3 separate regions of the Homo sapiens genome follow, and regions 1 and 2 are each linked to region 3. The links are contacts of gene promoters, found by promoter capture Hi-C in human tissues and cell types (Jung and others, 2019). All regions are on one chromosome and are shown on one strand. The core of a region is centred on a gene start or on the middle of the fragment in contact, and the rest is flanking DNA. Distances in the headings are between cores, read along the strand shown.

The links. Contacts are between HindIII fragments. The study calls those that stand out against the background at their distance.
Region 1: the fragment with the promoter of KIAA1671 here is called in contact with a fragment that was not itself captured in region 3 in 2 of the 25 tissues and cell types used here (adrenal gland and thymus).
Region 2: the fragment with the promoter of PIWIL3 here is called in contact with a fragment that was not itself captured in region 3 in 3 of the 25 tissues and cell types used here (H1 embryonic stem cells, adrenal gland and small bowel).

The regions. Positions count from the first base shown.
Region 1 is chr22:24,951,384-24,954,685 of GRCh38, reverse strand. KIAA1671 reads right to left here and starts at 1,970. Exons shown (of 13, transcript NM_001145206.2): 1 at 1,914-1,970. RefSeq lists a silencer at 1,904-2,153. The HindIII fragment of the contact is 5,810 bases long and covers 1-3,302 here.
Region 2 is chr22:24,772,505-24,776,298 of GRCh38, reverse strand. It overlaps PIWIL3 (piwi like RNA-mediated gene silencing 3), which reads left to right and starts at 1,579. Exons shown (of 21, transcript NM_001255975.1): 1 at 1,579-1,977. The HindIII fragment of the contact is 9,839 bases long and covers 1-3,794 here.
Region 3 is chr22:24,875,932-24,879,785 of GRCh38, reverse strand. It overlaps SGSM1 (small G protein signaling modulator 1), which reads right to left. Exons shown (of 25, transcript NM_001098497.3): 13 at 3,071-3,209; 14 at 260-324. Among named protein-coding and RNA genes, the nearest start is that of LHFPL7, 69 kb to the left of the region's middle. RefSeq lists a silencer at 3,577-3,777. The HindIII fragment of the contact is 3,659 bases long and covers 277-3,854 here.

The DNA.
Region 1 (3,302 bases), core at 721-3,220, 75 kb before region 3:
CCCCAACATCAAGAATCAGTACTAGACTGCAGGGCAAGCCGACTGCTCCATAGCTGGAAAGTAACTCCAAGAGGACAAATCCTGAGTTGCCCTAGGCCACACCATTTCTACAGTGCTCCTGACATAGGTGCTCAATACACGCTGGTTGATGGAGCCAGCCAGTTCATGTGCCCAGCTGAAATGTATGTCCAGACACTGCATTGAAACTCTGCACTTCTCTTGGGTAATTGCACCCTTGTCAAGCATGCAAATCCTTTAAAAAGGATCCCCCTGCCAGAACCACCAAGATCTGGGCTTGTGTCTGTACAAATTCCTCGGGAACTGTCCCTGGCTGCAACAGGAAGGAAGGAGGCGCCAGAGTCTGGGGGTGCACACGTTTGTCCAGGAACCTTGATGGATTAGCAGAGGGAAAGCCAGACCAAGGGAGAAGCTTTGTCCAAATGTCTTGGTTACTCATTAGCCAAACCTCAGAGCTTCTCTCTGCAAGGGGGGATCAGAGGGGCAATTAACCCATTTGGAAGAAAGGTTAAGCTAAATAGCTCTCTAATCCTGCGGTTTCAAAAGATAGCAAGTAGGGTTTCTGGAATCTTTAGATACTGTAAGGCAAGCACAGGGGATGGGGCACGGGAAAGGAGAGGCCATAGACTGAGGGAGGCACTGATACTTATAGAGCCCCTACCTGTTTCATACCCTTCATTCCGATCCATCCTAGGCCAAGCCCATTTTGCCCAGAGGGTCCCCATCTGGATTCAGATAGGTTAAGTGTTTTGCCCAAGGTCACAAAAAAGGTGCAAAGAAAGTGTTTTTCTTTGTGCAACAGGTACAGTCCTTTCCCTTCCAAAAGATAATGGCTGCTCCTGGCTAGAGAAAGTTCAGTCCCGGCAGGCAGGAAGCCCTAGCCACCTAGGCGTCGCGCGGTGGAGGTCACACGCCTGCTCCGGGACTGGACAAACAGCAGGGTTTTAAGGCGCGGCGTCCCCACTCCCAGGCGAGTTTGTGCCAGCAGGGTGTGAAAAGGTCAGGCTCGGGTGGGGGTCAACGAGCCGCTTCCCATCCCGAGGGCCCCACCCGTGAGCCCGGGTGGGCCGCGCCGCCATCGGGGCGGGGACCACGCGGGCCTGCCTGGTAACAGGGGGACTGAGGCTTAATCCCATCAGGGCGCCTCCGCCCTGGGAAGACGAGCGGAGGGGGGGCGCAGGCCAGGCCGAGAGGACGTGTCCGGAGCCTCCGCGTCCGAGGGGCCCCGCGCGCCGCCCCTCTCACGCCCCCCGAACCACCGCGCTGTCCTCCGGGCTCCCCTCGACCAGGGTTCCGTCTCGCTCGCCGCCCTTGCTTCCCACTTCCACCTCCGGGGCCTCCAACCCGCACAAATGTCCAGACCCTAGCAGCTCCAGGCTGAGTAACCCAGATCTCCAGCGATCCCTCAGCTCCTAGCCACGGGATCTCTCTGAATCCATTCCCAAGGCTCAGGCTGGCATGGGAGGAGATTGATCCTCTCGCTCCCAGTCTCGAATCACCCTTCGCCGTCACCCCTGACTGGGGATCCAGTGGGACCCCAGGCCTCCAGCGCCCGATCCCCTCCAGGGATCGACTCCCAAGTCGCCAACCAGGTGGCACGTGATCCATTGGTTGCCCTGTGCGGGATCTTCCCGCGGGATCCACTCTCAAGTCTCGGGAGACGGATTCCCCGGCTCCCAAACCGGGATCCTCCCTCCCTGCAGACCCGGAGTCTGGGGAAATCCTCCGGCTCCCCGCCTCTTCCCCGGCCAACTTTGCCAACTTTTCTCCCGGGGCCTCGGCCGGGCAGAAACTTGGCGGCCCTCGCCAGCCGCCGTCACCCCCAGCTACCTCGTCGGCCGGGGACAGGAGGCGGCCAGCCGGCCCCCACTGCCCGCAGCCGCTGCGCAACCTACCGTGGAGCCACCGCCAGCCCGCGCCGCGCCGCCACCTGCCCGCAGCCCGCGGCACCTGCCCTGGGAGCCCGCAGCCCCGCGCAGCCTAGCCTGCTGGGGGCGGGGCCTCGAGCGGGGACGCGCCCCCGTCACCATGGGAACTGCCGCCGGCCGCGCCTGCGCGGAGGGGAGCAGAGCAGGCAGGACCCGAGTCCGCAGTGGCGCCTGGGCCTGGGACCTCTCCGGCGGGTCAGAGGTCACGACTCGCTTGGACACCCCTGCCGGAAGCGCTCCCGCCCCTCGAGGCCCGACCCCGCTCTGTCCAATTGGGAACTTTGCTCCGGGTACCCTCCCGCGTTCCCTGGATGTTCCCCAGTCACCAGCCAGGATCCCCCGCCACCGGCACCGACCCGCTGCCCAGCCGGCGACCCCGAGAGCCTAATGCAACCCAGGATTTCAGGAGGCGCTCCATAAATGTGGGCCCACTGACTTGCCTGGGCTGCTGGTGCCGGCCCGGGGGCGGGCAAGGTCTGTGCGCGGTGCTGGCGCCTCCTCGCGCCAAGCAAGGGCACTGCACCTGAGAGTTCGCTGGAGCGCCTACTGTGTGCGCATCCTCCTGCCATTATGTTGTGGGTGTGAGTTGTGGGGTAATGGGTACAGGAACTTGTGGACAAGTTGAGAGAATCGTAGGAAGTCGCCTCTGAAAGAGAAAATACCTGTTCTGTTATCCGTTACTCATTTCATTCAGCAGATCTTTATTAAGCACCTATTGCATGCTGGGTGCTGGAGAACCCAGTGGTGGGCAGCTGGCAAAATCCAGGCTGTTGTGCAGCTTACAGATATTCAAACAAATAATTTCACGAGTATATCAAATTGAATCTGTGACATGTGCTCCTATGGGAAATGTACAGAGCATGAATAACTGGAGGACCTAAAATCAATGTGCCTTTATTATAAGCAAGATAGACCTCAATAAAAAAAGAGAAAGAAAAGGACATCACAGGCTGCGCACGGTGGCTTGTAATCCCAGCATTTTGGGAGGCCGAGGCGGGTGGATCACCTGAGGTCATGAGTTTGAGACCAGCCTGGCCAACGTGGTGAAACCTCGTCACTACTAAAAATTACAAAAATTAGCTGGGCGTGGTGGCGGATGCCTGTGATCCCAGCTACTCGGGAGGCTAAGGCAGGAGAATGGCTTGAACCCGGGAGGTGGAGATTGCAGTGAGCCAAGAGCGCGCCACTGCACTCCAGCCTGGACGACAGAGCAAGACTCCATCTCAAAAAAAAAAAAAAGAAAAAGACATCACATTGTGTGGCTTCAGGAGGATTGGTGGGGAGACTTCTTGCCTCATTTTGCTCTTAAATTGTTGGGTGTGTGTAAGAAACAAGGGTAGCTCCTGTTCTCCACAC
Region 2 (3,794 bases), core at 330-2,829, 100 kb after region 3:
AACCGACCACACCTTGCTTCTAACGCCTAAGCTGTCTTTGTTCATTCCTGGGCATAGGCCAAACTAGTCTTGGGGAAGAATTGTTTATAGTTTAAATTCTGAAACAAAACTGATAATAGTCCTTTCCTGAAAAAAAGACGCTTCTTGCGTGGGGAACTGTCCTGCCTTTGTAGGACTAACAAATTAGCTACAAGATGAGAGATTACGGCTTAGGGGCCATGCAGCTTCTGGCCGCAAGAGTCTGAACCTCCCCAAGTTGCTTCTGGGAATAAAATCTCCGTTGCAAAACTTAAGATCAGTGCTTGAGATATTTTGCATACCCTGAATTCCGATGCAGCAGATGACACCACCCAGACTGATAATCTGGCTCAACCAGTCCTGCGATCTCATCCAGGAAGAGAAATCAGCAAGAACTCACTTCCACCCCCATGATTCCATCTCCAACCCGACCAATAAGCACTCCCTACTTCCTGAGCCCATACCCACCAAATCATTTTTAAAAACTCTGATCCCCGACTGGGCATGGTGGCTCACGCCTGTAATCCCAAGGTGGGTGGATCACTTGAGGTCAGAAGTTTGAGATCAGCCTGGCCAATATCATGAAACCCCGTCTCTACTGAAAATACAAAAATTAGCCTGGTGTGGTGGCATGCACCTGTAATCCCAGCTACTCAGGAGGCTGAGTCAGGAGAATCGCCTGAACCCGGGAGGCGAAGGCTGCAGTGAGCAGAGATCACATCACTGCACTCTAGCCTGGACGACAGAACGAGACTCCATCTCAATAAATACATAGAGATATAAATAAAATAAAATAAAATAAAGTTTCTTAAAAAAAATAGGAAATCTCCTGAAAAACCTTTTCAGAAAAATAGCCACAGGTGCATGTTTGGCTCGTGTTTTTCCCAGAAACAACCTAAATCTGGCTTGATAAACCTTGATTGATGTATTTGCCCCAGTCACTCATGTTGTAACCAGCAAAAGGGCCCAGCTGCTCACTGCTTGTAGAAAGAAGTCAAAATGATAATGACATGTGATTTAAAAAGAAAGAATTTTATAATCTATGCTAGCAAGGGCAAGAGCAGAGAGCAATTCCACTCTTCCACGTGAGGAAAGAACGCAGGGGTTTTTTTTGTTTGTTTTTTGCGACGGTGTCTTGCTCTGTCGCCCAATCTGGCTGGAGTGCAGTGGCGCAATCTCAGCTCACTGCAACCTCCGCCTTCTGAGTTCAAGCGATTCTCCTGCCTCAGCCTCCCGAGTTGCTGGGACTACAGGCACATGCCACCATGCCCAGCTGATTTTTTGTATTTTTAGTAGAGACGGGGTTTCCCCGCGTTAGTCAGGATGGTCTCCATCTCCTGACCTCGTGATCCTCCGGCCTTGACCTCCCAAAGTGCTGCGATTACAGACGTGAGCCACTGCGCTCGGATGAACGCAGGGGTTTTTATTTATTTTATTTTATTTTTTAAGATATTTATTTATTTGTTTATTTTTTGAGACAGAGTCTCACTCTTTCACCCGGGCTGGAGTGCAGTGGCGTGATCTCGGCTCACTGCAAGCTCCGCCTCCCGGGTTCACGCCATTTTGCTGCCTCAGCCTCCCGAGTAGCTGGGACTACAGGTGCCCGCCACCACGCCCGGCTAATTTTTTGTATTTTTAGTAGAGATAGGGTTTCACTGTGTTAGCCAGGATGGTCTCCATCTCCTGACCTCATGATCTACCCGCCTCAGCCTGCCAAAGTGCTGGGATTACAGGCGTGAGCCACCGCGCCCGGCCAAAGCGGTTTTTAAAGGGAGGATTTGGAAGGCAAAAGAGGCAGGGGGACTGGGAGGTGTCAGGTGGTGTGACCCCCTCCAGTGGCTTGTCCTGAATTATTTTTCCATCTGTGGAAGTGGCCGGCGTCATCATGGCTGGAGGAGGTGCATGGTTCGTATCAGGATCTGACTACTGAAGCTTCTAAGGAAATATGTGACCAGATAAGTGAGTATGGTGTGTGCTTACCAAACAACTAGGTAAATAAATGTGCATAAGGCATGGGGGCATAGAACAGGAAAAGAAAGGGGGTGGAGGTTCACAGCACATTCCAAGGCTGGATTTCAAGAGGAGAGGAAACACGTCTATACTTTGTCTAAGTTACATCTTCAGATTAGCAGAAGAGAGGAAAGGGGAAAGGAAAAAAAGTTTTAAAATGCGGTTTGAGGTTAGGCTGCTAAGCTGCTGGGTTACAGATTCAGCTTATATTTGAGCATGTGGAGTATGTATATTTATTTTAAAAATCTAGAGCATCTTGGTCAGCCACAGTGGCTCATGCCTGTAATCCCAGCACTTTGGGAGGCTGAGGCGGCTGGACCATGAGGTCAGGAGTTCAAGACCAGCCTGGCCAAGATGGTGAAACCCCGTCTCTACGAAAAATACCAAAATTAACTGGGCGCAGTGGCGGGTGCCTGTAGTCCCAGCTACTTGGGAGGCTGAGGCAGGAGGATTGCTTGAACCTGGGAGGCGGAGGTTGCAGTGAGCCAAGATCGCACCACTGTACTCCAGCCTGGGCAACAGAGTGAGTGAGACTCCCATCTCAAAAAAAAAAAAAAAAAAAAAAAATCTAGAGTGTCTTGTACATATCCTTTAATAACCTACTTTTAAAAACTTAATATATTTTAGATACATATGTATATGTGTACCTACTTACATCCTTAAAACTGACGTGATGATAAATAAAACCGCGGAATTTCTATCAATATGTAAATGCTCTTCTCAGAAAAGGCGGGCTCTTTGCTCCTGTGGTTGATGGGGATGATGCAGATGGTGGCAGAGGCTTCCATTTTTTGAGCATTCGTTGTGGGACCTGCCAGTGCTTCAAGCTCAATACACCTTCTCCCATTTAACCCTCACAGCTCAGGAGGGGGTCCTGCCGGGACCTCCACTGCAGACAGGAAAAGAGGAGAAAGTTGGTATCTTCTGAATTCTTTTGGCAAAAGGAGAAGGGAAGAGGGTTCCTGTGCAGGGCATGCAGGAAGGCAGGAGTATGGAAAAGGGGGAAGGGACAGTGTGTAATGCCCTCCCTGCTGAGCCACATGGTTGGAATGGAGCATCACAGCAGAGATGGCAGAGCCAGAAACCCTAGGATCCGGTGTCAGAGGGACACAGGGCCCAGCTGCCAATGTGTGGCCCAGAGCAGTGGAGGACACCTTGGTTATGCCCTGGCACACAGCTTTCTACTGTCCTGGCATCTAAGCCCTGGGGACTGGGGCAGTGGGGTCAGTGCCCTCAGCTGGACACAGACACGTGGAGCAGAACTTGAAAAAGATGGGCCCCTGAGCCCATAGGACCCAGAGACCCAGCACCCAGGGAGGCCTGGGGAGGGAGAAGGACGCCCTCAGCTAGCACATGGGGGCTTGAGGTCCAGATAACTGTTAAGGTACCTCATCTGATCTCCCCACAGGGGACACCCGGCACATGCAGGCCTCCTTCCTGACTTCTCTGCCAACCTTTTCCCCAGCCTTAAAACTTTCTCTTCCCGATGTCATTGTGACACTTCTTCAGTTCTCCTTCTAGTCCACTAGATGCTGCTGTGCACCCACCTAAGCACCACCATTTCTAATTCCTGGGATCCTAGTTTGGGAAAGACAGGGGAGCTGGTCAGCCGTTCGGATTTCCCAGTGGGTAGAATGGAGACTGCAGCCTTTGCCAGGGCTCTTCTCCACTGTGGTAGTGATTTTAACTCCAGTAGCTGTAACTTGCTGAGCACTCAGCACCTGCTGAGCTCTTTGCACAGATTGGCTCCTGTAACCCCCACAGGC
Region 3 (3,854 bases), core at 857-3,356:
ATTAAACCAAATCTCTGTCCCCAGGGGACCCCACTGTCCACTGTCCTCTCTCAGGACCCAGGGGTAAAATTTATCCCGTCAGTAGACAAGAAAACTGAGGCTCAGAGAAGTTCATGTAACGTCACTGAAACCAGACATCTAGGGAATAGAGGAGGAGAGGTTCAAACTCCAGAGCCAGTATCTTTTGATATTGCTGGCATACAGCAGGCACCAATAGCTGCTCCACGGAGACACACTGGCAATGGAGCCCTATACGTACATCCATAGAAGGCTCTGGAGAGGATCTGGTACTTCATATTGTCACAGAGAAGTTTCAGGGGAGCCCTGCAGGTGGAGAAAGAGGGAGATGCTTAGAATAGATCCAAACACAGCCCAGATTTTCTGGAGAGGATAACCACGTGCTATCTCTAGAGGGCAGATTAATATCAGCCAGTCAGGGAGACTGTAGGGAGGGCTGCTATTACCTCTACCTGTACAGCATCATTGCCTCTTCTGGTACCGGCCCCCTGATTTTCCCTTGAGAAATCACGCTCTCCACAACTGTCTGTGTGGTTTGTATGTGGATGACTCTGCCCACTACAGGACTCAGGTTGGAGTCACAGTGATTGGGGCAGAGATGGTCATGTGACCCAACCTGAGCCAATGAGAATTAGCCCTGGGACTTTTGTTGGAATTACTAGGTAACAGACACTTTTCTGAATGGGTTTCTAAGCCAGTGGGATATAGGGCAGTGGCTGCTGGGAGCCATCTTTGCCACTGCATAGGAAGCACCTGTCTGAGGATGGAACCATCATAGAAGCAAGCAGAGCCAAGAGCTGAAGAAACAGAGATTCCTATTTCGATCATCTGTATCCAGCCATGCCTGAAGCCACTGTGCCTCTAAGCTTCTCAGTTACACCAACAAATTTCCTTTTGTACTTGAACCAGTTTGAAGTGGGTTTCTATCACTTGCAGAAAGAGTTCTGATTTGTAAAGTGATCCAGCTGAACCAAGCTGAGCCAAAGTGGGATTCAGAGTCTGGCTGATTGCTAAGTAGGTGATGCCTCAAAGCTTCTCCTTGCATGGGAATTTTTGGGAACTTTTTCGGCTGAAAGAGGTGAGAGGAGTCAGATTCTAGCATTGTTGGAGAAATCCAGGACTGCTGAAGGGAGTGTTGTACACTCTCATAGAGGATAGAATGGAAGAATATCTGCATATTTGTTCTCAGGACATCCCAGGAGACATCCAGAAAAACAGGTAGACTGGGGCAGGGCAGAAGGAGCATAGCTGAAGTCCTCCACTTAGGCACATTGAGACAGTTAGGAACATTAAACAGTAAAGAGTTCCCCTTTGTGCCCTCAGGTTGATGAGGCTCAGACTTGCTCAGATTACATCAGAATAGGATCACATCAACAGCTTTCCCGCTGTAGACTTCGCTTTCTGCAAAGTAGTGAGCTCTCCATCACTCCAAGTGTGTAAGCAGATGCTACAACAGGAGAGGGGGCAATGGGTTATAGCAGCCTTTCTCACTGGTCCACGGACCATCAGCCCAAGAGTTACTTGGAATTTCTCCAACATGTGGATTCCTGGGTCCTGCACATACCTACTCAGTCAGGACCTCTAGGAAATAGTCCAGGAACTGATATGTTTTGCCACCTAGCCCAGGTGATTCTAATGCATGATAAGAGAATCTCCAGGCGGGGCGCGGTGGCTCATGCCTGTAATCCCAGCACTTTGGGAGGCCAAGGTGGGCGGATCACTTGAGGTCAGGGGTTCGAGAGCAGACTGGCCAACATAGTGAAACCCCATCTCTACTAAAAACACAAAAACTAGCCAGGAATGGTGGCACATGCCTGTAGTCCCAGCTACTCGGGAGGCTGAGGCAGGAGAATTGCTTAAACCCGGGAGGCGGAGGTTGAAGTGAGCCAAGATCATGCCATTGCACTCCAGCCTGGGCGACAGAAAGAGACTCAGTCTCAAAAAAAAAAAAAAAAAAAAAAAAAAGAAAGAAAGAATCTCCAGTAATATTAGCACTTCTCAAACTTTAAAGTATACACATGGTCTTGAAACCACGTTAAATACAGGTTCTGATTCAGGAAGTTTGGGATGAGAGACTCAGAATTTGCCCAGGTGCTGATGCTGGTTCACGGACCACACCCTGAGGAACCAGGGGATTGGATGACTCCAAAAATTTGATGCCAGCCCCCACCCCTTATATCCTATGGCTGATGACTGGACCACCCACTAGGACAGAAGCCCCGCAAGGACAAAAGGGTTCTATTTTCTCAGGCCAGGCCAGGTTGGACCAGGGGAAAACAAGATCAGTCTCATGAATTGGCTGAAGAGTTTCAAAGAGACAAAGGATCTATGGGCAAACAGAAGATGAGCTTGAGATTTAACTTTATATAATAAAACATTAAGTGTCATTTACTGAACAGTACCATGTGCAGGTGCCACATTCTGGCCACTTTAAACCATTACCTGAGCTGGTCCTTACCACAGCCATATAAAGTTAAGAACTGGAATTTCCACTGTGTGGGGGTGCAAACTGAGATGTGGTTGTTGTTAAATAATATTTCTGGGATTATTTTGCCTTCTAGGTGTATGGTAGGGCTGCACTTACTGTCCCCTTGTGGATGGGGCCAATGGGCTGTGAGTGGATATGACATGTGCTGCTTTTGGGCAGAGCCTTTTTATCGTAGGTTCCAACCTCTGCAGAGCTACCTTTCCCTGTCATTGTAACTGGCAACATTCAAGATGGTAGCTGCTCCATCACCCAGGCCCTTTAGTGTGGAAAAAACAGCCACCAGCTGACCCATGATAGAAACACAGCATGCATGATAAATAAACTTTTGTTGTAAAAAAGCCACTGAGGTTTTAGGACTGTTTGTTACTGCAGCATAACCTTGTTTATCCTGACTATTACATGTAACCTCTAACAGCTAGGATTTCATGGCCAGGATTTAACCTATATCTGCCTGAGTCCGCAGGTTATGCTCACTCTGAATTCAGTGCAGGGTAAGACATGGGCATCTACAGATCTCTGGTACATCCTTCAGCTCTCTCCATCTGCAGCTCAAGCCCCTCATACCTCTCATGGTTGCAGCCATTGGTCGAGCTACCATCAGCCGAGCCACTCTGTGAACAGGATGAACAGGAGGACTTCCGGGGACTGGGCTGCCACAGGGATGGGAGGTTGCTTACAGAGACGTCCATCAGATCCTGGGGCACTGTGGTGGATAGAAGGAGGGGCAGAAGAATCACCCTGGTTAAACCTATGTGGGTCACAGAAATCTCACCCTAGAGCAAGCAGCTCACCCGCCCCAGCCAGCACAGAGATAGGAAAAGACCCTGAAGATGACAGTAGGAAACAGCAGCCCTAATCATCCTTGAGTTTGCCTGATCCAATGAAAGCCACCACCAAAATCTGGGGCAGAGCTGATGACAGCCAAAGAGAGAAGAAGAGGACACAGAGAGCCAAGAGCCAAGAAACCAGGCCCAATCCCAGAGCAGGAGGCCAAGCCTTGCCATGTTGTCACTTAGTCATGCTCACAGGATGCTGCAGGAGGGAAGGGGAGCCTGCTGGATGATTCTGGAGAAGAGACAGGCCTCATGGCTGAGATGGAAGGGAGCCTGACTCAATAGATGAGGCAGGGCACCCAAGTGCCAGAGACCCAGTGAAGCCCCTGCTGAGGAAGAGGGCACCTGCGCTGTCCATGGTCCTGAGGCTAAAGCTGCTCCAGCAAGTGGGTCTCAAACATATTAGCAACTCCCTAAAATCACGTGGGAAGCTTGTTAAAAAGCAATATGGCTGCCCCACACTCCTGGCCTACTCAACTAAATCCTAGAGACAGAGCTCTCAAATCTGTATTTCT